Regions from separate parts of the Homo sapiens genome. Here all the other regions are linked to region 4. Evidence: promoter capture Hi-C in human tissues and cell types (Jung and others, 2019). All regions are on one chromosome and are shown on one strand. Each heading gives the region's core, a stretch centred on a gene start or on the middle of the fragment in contact. The rest is flanking DNA. Distances are from core to core; before and after follow the strand shown. Region 1 has its middle 12 kb from the start of TUBA1A. Region 2 has its middle 31 kb from the start of TUBA1C. Region 3 holds the start of RHEBL1 (RHEB like 1). Region 4 holds the start of MCRS1 (microspherule protein 1).

The links. Contacts are between HindIII fragments. The study calls those that stand out against the background at their distance.
Region 1: a fragment that was not itself captured here is called in contact with the fragment with the promoter of MCRS1 in region 4 in 1 of the 25 tissues and cell types used here (IMR-90 fibroblasts).
Region 2: a fragment that was not itself captured here is called in contact with the fragment with the promoter of MCRS1 in region 4 in 2 of the 25 tissues and cell types used here (adrenal gland and hippocampus).
Region 3: the fragment with the promoter of RHEBL1 here is called in contact with the fragment with the promoter of MCRS1 in region 4 in 1 of the 25 tissues and cell types used here (dorsolateral prefrontal cortex).

What each region holds. Positions count from the first base shown.
Region 1 is chr12:49,199,723-49,202,422 of GRCh38, reverse strand. No RefSeq gene overlaps it. Among named protein-coding and RNA genes, the nearest start is that of TUBA1A, 12 kb to the right of the region's middle. The HindIII fragment of the contact is 4,030 bases long and covers 1-2,700 here.
Region 2 is chr12:49,232,766-49,235,465 of GRCh38, reverse strand. It overlaps a transcript of TUBA1C not described here. Among named protein-coding and RNA genes, the nearest start is that of TUBA1C, 31 kb to the left of the region's middle. RefSeq lists a silencer at 700-989. The HindIII fragment of the contact is 6,126 bases long and covers 1-2,700 here.
Region 3 is chr12:49,068,721-49,071,420 of GRCh38, reverse strand. RHEBL1 (RHEB like 1) reads left to right here and starts at 1,442. Exons shown (of 8, transcript NM_144593.3): 1 at 1,442-1,687; 2 at 2,315-2,386. The coding sequence starts at 1,636. RefSeq lists enhancers at 999-1,048, 1,419-1,728 and a silencer at 1,279-1,398. The HindIII fragment of the contact is 9,146 bases long and covers 1-2,700 here.
Region 4 is chr12:49,566,803-49,569,502 of GRCh38, reverse strand. It overlaps MCRS1 (microspherule protein 1), which reads left to right and starts at 1,361. Exons shown (of 15, transcript NM_006337.5): 1 at 1,361-1,455; 2 at 2,662-2,700. RefSeq lists enhancers at 862-911, 1,262-2,065. The HindIII fragment of the contact is 15,517 bases long and covers 1-2,700 here.

The DNA of each region.
Region 1 (2,700 bases), core at 111-2,610, 370 kb after region 4:
GCGCCCGGCTGTCTGATTTATTTATTTATTATTTTATTGGTTAAAGCTGATGACGCTAGGATATAAATCTTATTTTAATTAAACCATCACAATGTCCACTCTGCTCTGCACGGAAAGATTGGCATTGATGAAGAAGAAGCTGAGGATGAGCTCTGTGTGAAGCCTCCATTTTACACAGATTTTCACTGAACACAAGATGAACCGTCTTCTATAAAACCACTGGGGATGATGTGCGCTGGATTTTTTGCAACGATTTTTATCTCTGGTGTTTCTGGCACTGACTAAGGTTTCAGGCAGACAGAGGCATGGAGGACCTAGCGACAATCACTAGGGAGCTTCCTGGTTGCTAGCAACAGTAAATACCATGAAGACACAATGACACAAAGACTCAACTTTTCACATACACACAATGAGACCTGGAGCCTGGTTTCTTATTTCAGATACAGAGTCCTTGAGATACAGTACAAAGGCTTCTTCTCTCTCTCCTTTGTATTAAATTTTTTAAATTGTGTGCAGAAACACATACTGCCCAAGAGCCTATATGACCATCTTGCTGCTCAATTTGTCTAAGAACACTTGTATTCTAACCTTCCTCTCAGTACTGTCATTTTTTTACTATTTTGAGGGAGAAATAGAAGGAAATAAGCTGTTTATCTGACTTGGGGATTTTAAATTATGTGTGACTTTGAAAAACTCATTTGTAAATACCTGTCTTCTGTAAGAGTTATAATTGATTTCCACTCTTCTGAAAATATTCAGAAAAACTATCTGAAAGATCTTCTTCTCCAAGCTTATTCTCTATTTTGTTTTTAGAAAAGGTAGAAGCATACAGAATATGAAATACAGCACTGGCAATTTAAGGTTTTTCCATGACTCATTCAAGGAAATTGCATAATAGCCTTTCCCTGCCAAGTTCACAGACTCTTCTCAAATACCTTGCAATTTTCCTTATTCTATTCCTTTATTCCTCAACCTCATCTCTCTTTCCTTCTTTTCTATGTGCCATTAACTTTTTTCTCTTTTCTCTAAGGCTGTAAAACTCTCTAGGGTATAGTCATGTGATAGGCAAGGTGACAACGGAAATTTGAAATACCCCCAACCTTGCTAGTCTGTCTCCTAGCAACTGTATAATACGTTGCTTAGTAACATGGGGGTGAGAGTGAAGTCGCTCTTACAAATCTAAAAATACTGAAATCATTTTAAAAAGATTAATAGTGGGCTTATTTATTAAAATATACTAAATCCATAAATAGTCTTGCCATATAAGGGACTTATTTCAGGCTATGCTATCTTGAGTGAAACTCTACATCTCTTATAATCTGTAGACAGTACTAGAACAACAGATTGCTGTTCACATAAGCAGATGAAGGAAAAAACCCACAGCGTTCTCTAAGCCTTTCTCTTCTACACATGTATAATCAAAGTTTACATCCACAGGGAAATGGAGAAATGTTTGCTAAATGATCTTTTAGGCTAGGCAGATGAAGAAAAAGCTAGGCAGCTTTTTCTAAGTTCTCTTTTGCCTGTGCATAATTGATTTCTAAATCTAAAGGAAGGTGGATCCAGCATTATCTCCAGAGAAGTTTAAAAAAAAAAAAAAGAAAAAATATTTTAAAAAGGGAATATGGAGAGACATTTCTTAAAATGCTCTTTGAGGCTAGGCTTCACTAGGAGTTGTGTCTTTAGGGTTAACAACCATAAATAAAGTAATTTTCAGTAAATTTATCGAGCGGATATCAGAATTTAGAAATAGCTGAACCACATCAAGCACACTAAAATTGTTTAGCTCAAAAATGATAAATTATTAATTCTAGGAGAGTATTATTTACTGAATTAGACCTACTGAATCAGACTCTCTGGTGGAGGAACTGGGGATCCATATTTTAACCAGCACCCCAATTACTTCAGCACATTTAGGAAACACTGGTGTACATGATCATTCCAACATGTTATAGGGGGGTATCTTCTATTTTAGTCTTAGATTTATGCCTGTAACACTTGAAGAGGGAGGTTCAAAGCCCAACCTAAATATTCTGCCACGTCCTCCCCTTGATGTAGGCCCTTTGGCTAATAAGACTGGTCAAGGCTGGGCGTGGTGGCTCACGCCTGTAATCCCAGCACTTTGGGAGGCTGAGGTGGGTGGATCACCTCAGGCTGGGAGTTCGGGACCAGCCTGGCCAAAATGGTAAAACCCCATCTCTACTAATAATACAGAAATTAGCTTGGTGTGGTGGTGCACGCCTGTAATCCCAGCTACTCCGAAGGCTGAGGCAGGAGAACCACTTGAACCTGGGAGGCAGAGGTTGCAGTGAGCTGAGATCATGCCATTGCACTCCAACCTGGGCGGCAGAGTGAGACTTCCATCTCCAAAAAAAAAAGACTGGTAAAGCTTCAGAAGCCTCCTCAATTGTTCATTCTGCAAATGTTTATTAAGATAATTTTGAATTGTAATTGACAGAATTTAGTGATCAGTTAGGATTAACTTAAATGAATTAAAGTACTTAGAATAGTGCCTGGAACACAGTGTTATATGAGGTTATTATTATTATTTATTTTATATATATATATATATATATATATATATATATTTTTTTTTTTTTTTTTTTTTTTTTTTGAGACAGAGTCTTACTCTGTCACCCAGGCTGGAGTGCAGTGGTGCGATGTCAGGTCATAGCAACCTCCGCCTTCCAGGTTGAAGTG
Region 2 (2,700 bases), core at 34-2,533, 330 kb after region 4:
ACTGCGCCCAGCCTGGTCCAGCCAAGGTGCCAGCGAGTCTCTCCTGGACAAAAAATGGGGCGCTGACCTGCAACCCCGACACCTTTCCGGAAAGGGCCTTGCAGCGGCGCGGCGCGTCCAGCAGATGGCGCCCCAGCTGAATTTTCGCGAGCTGTCCTCCAAGCTTGCAGAAAAATCTGGAACTAACAGGAAGGGGAATTTTTTTTTTTTTTAAGCATTCTAATTTTCAACCTATACTGCCTTTTTGTCCGTGTCAGGAGCCCTTTTTATTCGAATAAGTTGCAATGCATTTGAGATGTCTAAAAGACTTTTTGATTACGCAATCCCAAATTAATTTTTTTTTTTTTTTTGGCCGGGCGCAGTCGCTCACGCCTGTAATCCCAGCACTTTGGGAGGCCGAGGCGGGCGGATCACGAGGACAGGAATTCGAGACCAGCCTGACCAACATGGTGAAACCCCGTCTCTACTAAAAATACAAAAATCAGATGGGCGTGGTGGCGGGTGCCTGTAATCCCAAATACTCGGGAGTCTGAGGCAGGAGAATCGCTTGAATCTGGGAGGCGGAGGTTGCAGTGAGCCGAGATCGCGCCAGTGCACTCCAGCCTGGGCAACAAAAGCAATACTCCGTCTCCAAAAAGAAAATTTTTTTTAGGATGTCCACTCTTCCAAAAGACCCAAGAGGGAGGTTTTCAAACAGCATTAATTGTCACAAGAGTTCAGAAACTTTCGCGGACAGCGATATGTGAAGAAAGGCCGCTTCTAAACAGCAGGGCGTGGCGGGGGCGCGCTCGCCGGGCCGCGGCGGAAGTGGCCTTCGTGGCGGGCGGGGCGGCGGCTGCGGCCTGGAGATAGCGCCGCCTGCTGGTCACCGGGGACAGAGCGCTCGGGGCTCGCCAGGACTGCGGCGCCACGCGGGTGGGAGCCCGAGCCCAGGCCCAGGCCCTGGCGCTGCACGTCACCGTACTAACCAAGGAAGCAAAGTCATGGACACAACCACAGCCTCCTTTCTGCTCTGCAGAGAAACCTGGAAGCCTACTCTGGTTTGGAGAGTAGTGTTTCAACGAACTTAACGGTTTTTAGCGCTTGCCACAGCTAAACAGGGTGGACTTGATTTTTAGGGTGTCCTTGTTATTTAAGACAATGCTAAAGGAGAATGAAAATTAGAACCTGGTAGGGGACTGCTTTCATTTATTCTCTCCTGCTTTAATGGGATTTACAACATATTAAAAGCAGTTATCAGAGGCAAATTGGATAAATGGGCTAGGGGTTGCGTTTCAAGGTGGAGGCGTTTGTCATTTCTGACTGTGGCCCCTCGTTTTTATTCCAGGATCGTTGCAGTGCCATTTCTAGGTCCCTCCTCCTCTCCCCACTTCCCTTTTCTCTGCACCCATTTGACAGGAGCCTCTGCAATCATCTGCTTATTGCGCGTCACCGTCATCCAGTGGGAGAGCCTTGTGGTACCACCTTTCTCCACCTATGGCTGCGGCCCGCAGGAAGATGACGGGTTGCGCTTCTGCTCTGGAGCCAGCCCTGTTGCCGGGAACTGCAACCCGCAAGATGATGCCAGAGCTCAGCTTCCCTCTTTTTATGTTGCAGAGTTTATGCTGCCCTGCACTGAGCAGACGCTTTCGCTTACGCAGCCCTGCCCTTCACCTTGCCCAGTGATTCCGGAATAACCTTCCGGACCCTCCTACTTGCAGAGGTTCGTTGCTTCAAGCGTCATAATCATTCATCTCCGTTTTTCCTCTAGTGATGAAGGCTCGTGGACGGACCACGGTTCACTCGGTCTAGGAGTCACGCTGTTGATCAGGTTGTCAGACATCAAAATTCCCATCTCCCATCAGGGCACAGCTATAGGGCTCTGGGTCAAAACAGGGCCTTCTCTTTTGTCTGGTAGCACCAGAAACACGGTAATTGGGAACCCATCAGGAATGGAAGGCTCCTTGAGGCCCTGGAGATGGAATGTTGGGCCCCCAAGTCCTGAAAGGAACCAGTGGGGCTGTAATCTTCACAATCTGGATCCAGCCAGAAGAGCACTGAGAGCTCAGTGTTTGGAGGACAAAAAAGGGCAATGGATATACAGTAACTTAGTGAATCAGGGCCCGGATCCAGGAAGATGCCTGACATTTGTTTATCAGCAGAGAAACAGAAGTAAAGGAGGGGAACCTTCTCCTAAGTGTTACTGTGTTATGAAAGTGTCCTTCAGGGAGAGGCGACATGAACAGGGCAGCTGATAACGTTGATACTGTGCAGGCACACATCTCCCCACATTCCCCAGGCTGCTGAACCAAGTGTACCAAACTAATCGCAAGGACACAGCTTTGAGCCTCCCCGGCGGCAGTCCCTGGAGAGAGTCCGCTCAGACAAAGCAAAGCGCGCTCCCAGCGGGGAGGGGTGGCCACTTTTTCTTTGTTCTCCCTTGGAAAATCGGCTGTCTCTCAAGTCTCGTAAACCAGCTGCTTTCACTTCTTGCAGGGGGTCAAAATCAATTAATCACCAATCATGTTTGGACAGCACAGTTTTGAAGCCCTGAACTCTGTGAAATGCAGGGTCAAACTATTTTTAGAATTTTAACATGCCGTTAAGTTTGTATTCTGAGTTTCCCAGCAAAAATTTCTGAAATGTGCCCCACTTTGAAAAAATAAAATAAAAAGAACACCTCCAGAAAAAAGGTGGTGGAGACAGAGTGTTTGGGATTGT
Region 3 (2,700 bases), core at 193-2,692, 500 kb after region 4:
GACTTCATCTGCTTTAGGCTAACTGGCTTTCTTTTTTTCTTCCCCTCTTCCTGGAATTTACCCAATTTATTTCCATCTTAACGCCTTAGCATTGGTGGATTCTTCTTGTGAAATCTCCTAGTTGGTTCCTTCAGATCTTAGTTTAAATGGGGTTTCCTATGAGAGAAAGTATCACTAAAGTGGTCATCTCAGCCAGGCTCGGTGGCTCACGTCTGTAATCCCAGCACTTTGGGAGGCCGGGTCAGGTGGATCACTTGAGGCTAGGCGTTCGAGACCAGCCTGGGCAACATAGCAAAACCCCATCTCTCCCCAAAATACAAAAATTAGCCAGTCTCATAACCCTGTCTCAAAATAAATAAAGAAAAAAAATTAAAAATGCTGTATTGTCTTTAAAAAATAAAGTGGTCGGCCGGGCGCGGTGGCTCACGCCTGTAATCCCATCACTTTGGGAGGCCGAGGCGGGCGGATCACGAGGTCAGGAGATGGAGGCCATGCTGGCTAACACGGTGAAACCCCGTCTCTACTAAAAATACAAAAAATTAGCCGGGCGCGGTGGCGGGCGCCTGTAGTCCCAGCTACTCTGGAGGCTGAGGCAGGAAAATGGCGTGAACCCGGGAGGCGGAGCTTGCAGTGAGCCGAGATAGAGCCACTGCCCTCCGGCCTGGTAGAAAGAGCGAGATTCCGTCTCAAAAAAAATAAAAATAAAAATAAAAAAATAAAAAAAATAAAGTGGTCATCTTTCATCACACCATCTTCTACAGCACTTAACACTCTCTGATATTTCCTTGTTGTATGTTTGTTTCTCCCTTCATAAGAGCAGACACATTGTCTGTGATGTCCATGTTCTGACCCCAAAGCTGGAGCAATGCCTGAAACATGTAGTATATACTCAGTATTTGTTGAAAAATGAATATTTGAGGATCATGATGATGAAGAAGAAACCTCAGACTACTTGATCATAAATTCTAGCAATTTCTGCAAGAATAAGAATTGCAGTTTGAAATTAGATGCTGGAAGACTGGAAACCTTGATAGGTCTGGGGCTGAAGGCTGGGGGAAGCAGAAGGAATATACTAGAACTTTGGCGGTTTTCTCCCTATCTAAGGACCCCAGAGACCATGCAAAAGGGAGGGCTAGAATCTTATGACCGGAAACCACAAAACGGGTATTTTCCATCCATAATTCTTCGAAGCCACTTCAGCTAGGCTGTAAATGCGCAAACGCCTTTAGGACCCCGGGTTCCTTTCTGTTTCTTTATGAATGAACCGGCTCCAGTCTGCGCACGCGCAGCTCCCAGTTCTCCCGCTCCACGTGAGGCCCACCCTTCCCTCCTGCTGGCGGCACCGCCCTTACCCATTCTAATGGACCAATGGCGAGCGGCCTGGGGGGCGGAGCCCGGCGCGGCGCGGCTCAGTAGTTCCCCGGGCGCCCGGCTCCCTGGCGTTAGACGTGCTGTGTTGTGATCACGTGGGCAGCTCCGGGCGCGGCGCTTGTTTTGGTTTCCTTCTAACTTGCCCACGGCAGCTTCGGGGTGAGCGACTTTCCTGCACCAGCTGCCGCGCCTGCTCACACCCTGACCTCGTTTTCGGGCTCTCTGAGCCCGCAGTTCCGCAAGCCCCTGGGGCGGGCTCCTGCCATGCCGCTAGTCCGCTACAGGAAGGTGGTCATCCTCGGATACCGCTGTGTAGGTGAGTCTCCGCCCTGCAGAGCTCGGACGCGCAGCAGCTTTGTAGCCAGAAGAGGCGCGCTGCCGTGGGAACGCGACCCAGGGAGGAATGATGACATCGTAAGGATGGGGTTGTAGAGCGAGGATTGGAAGAGTGGAGGAATGGAAGAGTGGAGGATTGGAAGAGTTGGTGGTGTGTGGAGGCTGCAGGAAGCGGGAGCACTTAAGGGTTAATGCGGACCTGGCTGCGGGAATCTCAGAGTGGTCCCAGCGTTACTTTGGGGATAGGGGTGGGGTCACAATTTGAAAACCGGGACGCGGTCTCCGTGGGGACAGATAGTCGCAGGTGTCCTGGGGCGGGGCGGACTTGATCCTAGGGAATCTTGGATCTTCCTACGAGTGGGATGGGGTGGGGAAGGCGGCGGGAAAGGCTTCCTGCTGCGCTTCTGAATGCATCCGGTAGCCAAAGTGCGGAGACCCTGGGTGAAAAGAGGGTGAGGGTAGACACAAAGGATAGCATTGCTTGAGGCACTCACAGACTGTGGTGTTAATTTGGGGTCTCCTTTGGTCCTGGGCCACAGTCCGAAAGGACAGAGGATGTGAATGTGGATGGATGATTTGGATACAACTGTCACACTGCTCCCCACAGGGAAGACATCTTTGGCACATCAATTTGTGGAAGGCGAGTTCTCGGAAGGCTACGATCCTACAGTGGAGAATAGTGAGTAGACTTCTCCCCTAGTGTGCTGGTGGTATGCGACCCGGAGGGCTTGGATACCCCACCCAACTCCATAATTTATTTCTCTGGTGCCAAGGGGCTGATTTATTTAGACATTACATCTGATTTCTTCTTTAGCAATCCTGTTCGATGGATGGCTAGAGTATGGATTTTGCAAGATATTGAGTCTGGGATAGTTTAGATGTAGACATTAAGAACCTTAGCGTGTCTTTCCAGTTACCTGGATAACTCCCTGGAGCTGATCTATCTGTGTCACCCCCAAGGTTAAGAATGTAAGGGGAGGCTGGGCGCAGTGG
Region 4 (2,700 bases), core at 112-2,611:
CAGCACTTTGGGAGGCCGAGGCAGCCTGATCATGAGATCAGGAGTTCAAGACCAGCCTGGCCAACATGGTGAAAACCTGTCTCTACAAAAAAAAAAAAAAAAAAACTTAGCTGGGCATGGTGGCACGTGCCTGTAATCCTAGCTACTCGGGAGGCTGAGGCAGGAGAATTGCCTGAACCGAGACCCGGGGGCCGGAGGTTGCAGTGAGCCGAGATTGTGCCACTGCACTCCAGCCTGGGCTATGGAGCGGGACTCTGTCTCAAAAAAAAAAAATTTCATTGGTTTTCTGATATTTTCACAAGTTTACATAATATATTTAATCAAGTGCCTGTTAAAAAATAAAACACACACTCTTTCATGGGAGTTAAAATAAGTACATACTCATTAAACAAGTCCACAGAACAGTAAATGAGGTTGGTACTCTCGAAGCAGAGGGCCATAGTATACCGTCAGGGCCAAAAGGGCCAGTCTCTCATTTGACACTTGAATTCCCTAGCAATGTCCATGTTATGTGTTCTTGACACCTCTGATGGACAGCTTTGGAACTGAATCTTTCTTATTCTGAGCTGAAGTATGTCTCTCTATAGCTGCTAGACTTTAGTACCTCGCAAAGGAAGCATAAAACAGAATTCCTCTTTTAGACAACAGTCTTTCTAGTTTTCCGGAACATCTCTCACAGCCCCAAATTCCCAATTTTTCCGACAGGTTCGTTCTCCCACCCCAAGATTCCTTCCAAGGCACTCTCCTCTGAAGGTGCTTCCATTGGTTTTCTCTCTTACCTCCCGGCGACCACAAGTGGCCCCAGCCGTCCAGGTGGGGTCCGGCTGACGGGACCAAGTCGACACTACTCCTTCTCGCAGGGTCTCTTCCTTCTCAGTAAAGCGGCCCACGATCCTCCATCCGCTCCTCAGAGAGCCTCTCTGCCCTTTCTGTCCGCCACATCTCCCTGGCTACATTATCTCCCCGACTAGTGCCTAGCAGGCGGGCCTGATAGAAGTTTCTCTAAAGGCTCTGGAGGAGTCAAACAATGCATAAGGTCCTGTGCAACCCTCAGACTCCTATACCTCGTGGGAATTTGGAAGTCGAAATCCAGTCCGCGGTCCCGCCCCTCCCCGGGTCGCCTCAATTAGCCCCGCTCGGTCTCGCCCTAAGTCTCGCCTTTCCCTTTAACCAACCCCTCAAGCCGGGTTACCTCTCCGGTGCCTATAATCCTTAACGTTTCCCTATATGCTGTCCCAACTAGGAAAGCCTTTACTTTCCGCTATTGGTAAAATATTTACACTTTCCGTACCATGGCCACGCCCCCTTCACACACGTTGCCAAGACGAACCGGAAGAGATTGCCAGCCCCCTGGTTCGTTAACCGGAAGTAGACGTACCTCACGGAAGCCGGCTTTGGCCCTGCGGCTGCTACCGTCGCCGCGGAGAAATTGTTGGATCTGGCAGTCTAGGAATGGTGAGACCTCGCGGTTCGCCTCTGAGGGTTCTCAGAGGAGTTGGGGATGAAATGGAGTTTTGCAGAGTGCCGCCGGGGACGACCACCCCCCAAGTTTGGGGCCCCGCCCCAGTGGCGCCCCGAAAAGCTGCGCATGCGTGGGCCGGACCGGGTTAGAATCTGGCTCGAAGTGTTACGCATGCGCAAAGGCATGGAGACCGTGGGGTGAGAATGGGCTTGCGAGTTTACCCCCACCTCCCCAGCCACCAGCCTGTGGGTCTCAAACCAAGGCTACTTGGTGCTCTGCTTTGAGTTGCAGAGGTGACTTCATCAATGCTCCTACCCCGAGTTCTTGAGACAGACCTGGACCGATCCCCTACCTTGGGTGTGCACTCTTGGGAGAACGAGGGGCGGAGGGTCCGGTAAGGAAGGGGCACAGACCCTACCTCAGTTTGCCGGCAAGCTCGGGCCCCTTCGCCCTCTCCTCAGATGTCAAGATTCTTAGTCGTAGCCTATGGAGCGGAGAGCGACAGGCTCACCTGGGGACAGGGCTAGAACACTGAGCTAAGAGCCACCCTGGTTAGAAGTGGGGACTCACGAGAGGAGCGCCCCGAGAAAGTCCAGTACCTGGGTTCTCTAGGGGTTGTTGGGGCACAGCGTGGTTGATAATCACGCAGTTCCCAAACAGTGGTTTTTGGTTTCCACGAGATGGTATCTCATGGAAATACCACTTACTAAATCTTCAGTAAAAACCCCAAATGGAAAAGAAAAACAAAAAAAAAACGAGATGGACTGGTTGGAGTTTTGTCTCCCTTTCTTTTTTCCTGCTTTGGCCTGGGAGGGGAAGGCTGGTGCTGCTGAGCTGAGTGGACAGCTGAAGTAAAGAAAAATGTGGGCCAAAGAATCCCTTGTCTCTTGCTAGTTTATAGTCAAGGCGCTTAACCTAGGAGATACCAGTAGAATTAAAGGGTCTATGAACCCTCTAAAATAGTATGTGTTTGCACCCTTTTCTGCAGTCCATAGCTGTTATCATACTCTGAAAGGTGCCAGTGACCTTCACAAGACTGATGTCTAAGGCTATTATTGGCAGAGTGGGGCCTTATGCCTCTTTCCTGTCCTTATGTCTTCCCTAGCTTATGGGACCCTGGGGGACCTGAGCCAGTATAAGGAAGTGAGGCTGGCCAGTTGGAAATCTGAGCCTCAGGGAGCCTCATTTCTCCTTTGCAGAATCTCCTCTCAGCCTTTAAGCTCACCTGGTCAGAATCC